Regions from separate parts of the Homo sapiens genome. Here region 2 is linked to region 1. Evidence: promoter capture Hi-C in human tissues and cell types (Jung and others, 2019). All regions are on one chromosome and are shown on one strand. The core of a region is centred on a gene start or on the middle of the fragment in contact, and the rest is flanking DNA. Distances in the headings are between cores, read along the strand shown. Region 1 holds the start of SLC7A11 (solute carrier family 7 member 11). Region 2 overlaps LINC02511 (long intergenic non-protein coding RNA 2511).

Region 1 (2,700 bases), core at 187-2,686:
ATTATATAGAATTTAGATAGATAATTTAAAAAGGAGAAAATGTAGCCTCAATTATTTGGATGGCAAAGCATTGAGGTGGTGTCATTTTCTCAGGTGTCAACATAACAGAAAATGGTTCTGACCTTTTCCATGCTACTTTCCTAATGGCGATTTCTCATTTCTTTCTTTGATCATCCTCACCATACTTGACTCCCTTCTTTCCCTGCCAACCTCTCGCACACAGGCTTTTTGTTTGTGGTTTTTGTTCAAAGGTTCAGAAGCTTATTTAATGGTGCGTATAAAGGTAGCTTCAGGGTAATGATAACATTCAATTCTTCTCACTGAATCCAAAACCACATGTAACTATAGCCAAAAATGATATCTAGGATTTCTTTTCTTTTCATATTTGTTTTTTCTTGACACTTGGTTGAGAAAGTTAGAAGGGTTTAAAAATGTTTTGCCTTTTTGACTATTGCAAAGTAAATATTTTAATTTAGCTTACATTTTTAATGCATTTTAAATTTATAATAATAACAATAGTTTATATAATGTGGAAAAAAGTCATACATAATATCATTACTTTCTATAACTACCATTCTGTTTTCCTTTACAGGCTTTTGCTATATACATATTTTTATGTAATTGTAATTGTGTAATTTTGAACTTAGAAATTTTTTTTGGTAATTCAAAGGAACAACATGACAATGAAGGATATGTATCTTTTACATAGTTCAAAAAAATCACCTAGTGCTAATGAGAATCAGAAAATGACTATTTTCTGGAGTCATGGTGAATTTTGTATTAGTCACACTCGGATGGTGATTTAAAATACTGGTTTATTATGAGTAGTAAGAAATAATTTTATCTTTTAATGTTGAGGAAGGCTTATAGTTGTGTGTATGTGACAGAAGTATAAAGTGTAGAATCTTTAATTTTGTAAATATTGGATTTGACTGTATTGCCTTATAAAAAACTCAAAATAAAAAAATAAAAAGCATTACACAAATTATGAAATTCAAACTGTGTTGTTATAAACAATGTAGCTTTAGGATACATTCTACTCACAAAACAGTCGCATGTAAAATGTTTTTATACACGCATTAAAGAAAAAGAAACTCCTTAAAATGAAGTAACTATTTCCTGTTTCATTTTGTTTGAACAGCTTTTGTTGCTCACTACGAGTTGCTTTAAATCTCTGGGAAGGTCTGTTCCGAATTTACTACTTCTGGATTGGCTAAAATCTCTTTAAAGTGTGTGCTTTGTTCTCTAAAAAGCTTAGGTCAGTTGAGCAACAAGCTCCTCCTGTTTTTTTCTTTTTTTAAAAAAAAGAGCTGAGTAATGCTGGAGGCTTCTCATGTGGCTGATGCAAACCTGGAGAATTTGCATCATCATTTAGCTGTAGTAAGTTGGTGTGACAGGCAGGCGCTTAAATACAAGCCCATGAGGAAGCTGAGCTGGTTTGTAATGATAGGGCGGCAGCAGCAGCAGCAGCAGCAGTGGTGGAACGAGGAGGTGGAGAATTGAGAGCACGATGCATACACAGGTGTTTCTGAGTAGTAATTAGATCGCTGTGAAGGAAAAAGCACACCTTTGAGTTTTCACCTGTGAACACTATAGCGCTGAGAGAGACAGTCTGAAAGCAGAGGAAGACATCGATCAGTAACACCAAGAGACACCAAAGTTGAAAGTTTTGTTTTCTTTCCCTCTGTTTTATTTTTCCCCCGTGTGTCCCTACTATGGTCAGAAAGCCTGTTGTGTCCACCATCTCCAAAGGAGGTTACCTGCAGGGAAATGTTAACGGGAGGCTGCCTTCCCTGGGCAACAAGGAGCCACCTGGGCAGGAGAAAGTGCAGCTGAAGAGGAAAGTCACTTTACTGAGGGGAGTCTCCATTATCATTGGCACCATCATTGGAGCAGGAATCTTCATCTCTCCTAAGGGCGTGCTCCAGAACACGGGCAGCGTGGGCATGTCTCTGACCATCTGGACGGTGTGTGGGGTCCTGTCACTATTTGGTGAGTGCGACTTTTTCTCTCGTGGGGGCGTGGCTGTGGGGCTGGAAAGCTTGCTTTCTGGGAAAGCAAATGGTAGTTTTTGAGGAGTGAATGGATGGCAAAGGCCACACCAAATTTTTAAAATTTTTGTTCGGGTACGTGAACTACCCAGATGCAGCATCCGCTGTTGGTGTGATCTGGAACACCCTCAAATTGCTTCCTACAGGCTGTACTTTCTTTTCCTGACTAAGACAGGCTATCTTCTGACTTTTCTCTGTGGTGATGAGAGCAAAGGCTAACTTTCATGACCCAGTAAAAAACATGCACACTTTCTGTGCCGGGCAGTTGTACACTTAGCTTGGGCATTCTGGCAGCTGGCATGCTGAATGAGACACCTGTGAAGTGGAACCTGGCATGGGCTATTTAGACATAGAACGGAGTGTTCAGCAGAAGTCTTACTGACTTTTTATTAGCCAAACAAATGGGTGGCAGTCTTTATAAAAATATTTTTTAAGTTCATGTGCTTGTCACCTCTTAATATCCTTTCAAAAGTCCTTGACATGGGAGAGATGTATGATGGCGCATAACTCAATCCCTATCATAATGGGGTATATTGCAATGGCCTGAGCATATTTCAAATTACTTTTCAACCTTTCATCTCTTCTCAATACCCATACACTTTTGCAATATAAGTTTTAAAACTTCAGTTGGGCGTTAGTTTTCTGTACT
Region 2 (2,700 bases), core at 181-2,680, 1.1 Mb after region 1:
GTTACCTCTTGAAATTTAGATAATAAATTTCAAAATTGATATTCACTATGGATAAGAACTTCTTTATTTTGTTCAGTGGGTTATAATCTATTACTACCATTATTTATTTAGGTGCTCAAATTGTCCTGTATTTAATCAGTGATGCCCCTTCAATCTGGCTTCTGTGTCTTATGTATATCATATCTCAATTATTCTTTGAACACTTCCTTCTTCTCTGAACAAGTCATTCAGGTTTCAAATGGAAAATATTCTCACTTCAGCCTTGGAATCAGCTCTTTCTCCCAAGAATCCTAGCTCCTTTTAATAGAAAATGGTGTTTAGAAATTAAAATATGGGCAGTAGATATTATCATTGCCTTTAGGGTGCTACTGTTTCTATGCTTTTTCAGTGGCAAGAGCTAGGAAATGTTCCTTATACAGCTATAAGTCATGTATATATAGTCAAAGCTATAGTAAAGACTAATATAATAGTGTCTACCGTATAATCTGGCACATTTTCTTTATCTTAGTATTTCTCTTCTCCCTGAATATGCTAGCTTGTGCCCTTTACTTGGCTCATTTTTTCCAAGTATTTTATTCAAAGTTTTTTGTTTGTTTCTTCATTATCTGCACAGCTGTCAGGTTCTTTCTACCCCTGCTCAGCTGGCTGGCATAGCTGGTAGACTTGTATGTTAAAACCCTGATTCCCAATGCAAGTCCTGGAATCTTATTTTACACAAGTACAGAGATCAAGTATATAAAAGAAGAGGTCACACTGACCAAGACCTTCCATCACAAAAGATCTAAATAAGATGAATAAGCTATTTGAAATTCAGGCAAACTAGAACACAGTAGCCTTGGCTAAACTGGTTAGTTGATACTTATTACCAGCAAATTTTGGCTCTAGGAGAATATTTTCCCAATATTGCCAAATCTGCTTCTCACTTTTGAAAAGACTGTTGAAATTAAGTGAAGTCTGCCAGTTTTAAATGTTGTCAACTAATTAGATTTTTGTTGCCTTGTTTAATATTTTACTGTCCAAAGAATACATGTCTGTATGTCACCACTTTAAAACCTTTTACTTAACAAAGCCCAGGGAATATTTTTCATTGAGGGGGGTAAACATCAGAAAAATAGCTGCTGTTTTATTCCTTTGTGCTTATGAACTACTATATACCAAACCTAGAGCCAAGCATCCTCATTTATCTACTTGAGGGACATTCATTCAGTCCTTACTGTGTACAAGGCATAATGCTAGACAGTGCAGTGGGCAGACAGATAAAAATGCTGAATAGATCCCTCTCCTCAAGACATCATAACATTGCAAGGAGAAGGGTAAGTATATATAAATATCCATATATAATCTCCTAAAGCAGAAAGGGAAACATAAAATATATATATATTTTTATATATATAATATATTTATATTTTATATTTATATATAAAATATATTTGTATATAACTATATAAAATATATTTGTATATAACTATATATAAAATATATTATATATAACTATATATAATGTATTATATATAACTATATAAAATATATTTATATATAACTGTATATAAAATATATTTATATATAACTGTATATAAAATATATATAACTGTATATAAAATATATTTTATGTATATTATATAAATATAAAATATAAAAATATTGTATTTATATATATATTTATATATTTATATAAATATATATATTTATATATTTATATAAATATATATATTTATATAAATATATATATTTATATATTTATATAAATATATATATTTATATAAATATAAAAAACTATATAAAAATATATTATATATAAATATATAATATATTTATACATGAAATATAAATATATTATATATATATGAGAGAGAGAGAGAGAAATAGCCCTAAAACTATAAAACATATTGCAGTAATGATACAACAGAGAAATATGAAAATTCAGATTACAGAACATATTTTATGTTGAAGACATTGGGCTGAAAAGCAAAAACAATGTTGTATGAGCATAGTAATGAAGCAGATTTCTTAACAACTTAGTAAAATGGAGATTGGGAGAAAGTGGTTAGTTAGCATATGCAAAAACATTGAGGTAGAGAGGTAGGAAATACAGGCAGGATCTGTAAAGTAAAACTATTTGTAATGGATCTGAAAGTACGTAAATTAGCATGAAGACCACTGATAGTCCAATCTACCTTAACCTGAGAAGTAGGGATCAAAGACAGTTCTAAAAAAAGTGGCAATAAATGTATGAAAAATAGGATAATGAGAGAGATCATTTGGAAGTAAAATAAATTGTCATTTAGATTAAACAGGGGTTGGAAGAAGTAGAGGAGATAGAGATCAATTAAACATAAATTCCAAATGTTGGTTTGAGATGATAAAGAAAATATCCTTAACGTATCCAGAGTGATGAAAAGAAGACACTATTCTGTGAGGGGCAAGATGGTTCATTCATATTTTAACCTCACTTAAAATGTAGGTGTAAATAATTAATTTATTCATCTGTTTTTCAGAAAGTAATTGTGTAACTACTATGTGCAAAGTGCTGGATCTTGGCCATGGGTGATACAAAAGCCAAATAAGAATAGGTCTTGTCTGAGGAAATTACTGTGTCTACATGCTATTAATGGAGCTATGCTGAGGGCACAGTTGAAGCCCTGGAAATTGGTAAGGATATCATAGGAAAAGGGGAGATCTGACTTAAAGGTATTATATGCT

The links. The method cuts DNA at HindIII sites, captures the fragments that hold promoters and counts their contacts. A contact is called where the count stands out against the background at its distance.
Region 2: a contact is called between a fragment that was not itself captured here and the fragment with the promoter of SLC7A11 in region 1, in 1 of the 25 tissues and cell types used here (dorsolateral prefrontal cortex).

The regions. Positions count from the first base shown.
Region 1 is chr4:138,241,085-138,243,784 of GRCh38, reverse strand. SLC7A11 (solute carrier family 7 member 11) reads left to right here and starts at 1,436. Exons shown (of 12, transcript NM_014331.4): 1 at 1,436-1,992. The coding sequence starts at 1,716. RefSeq lists enhancers at 1,182-1,421, 891-2,090. The HindIII fragment of the contact is 2,388 bases long and covers 758-2,700 here.
Region 2 is chr4:137,163,865-137,166,564 of GRCh38, reverse strand. All of the region lies in intron 1 of LINC02511 (long intergenic non-protein coding RNA 2511), which reads left to right. Among named protein-coding and RNA genes, the nearest start is that of LINC02510, 29 kb to the left of the region's middle. The HindIII fragment of the contact is 7,172 bases long and covers 1-2,700 here.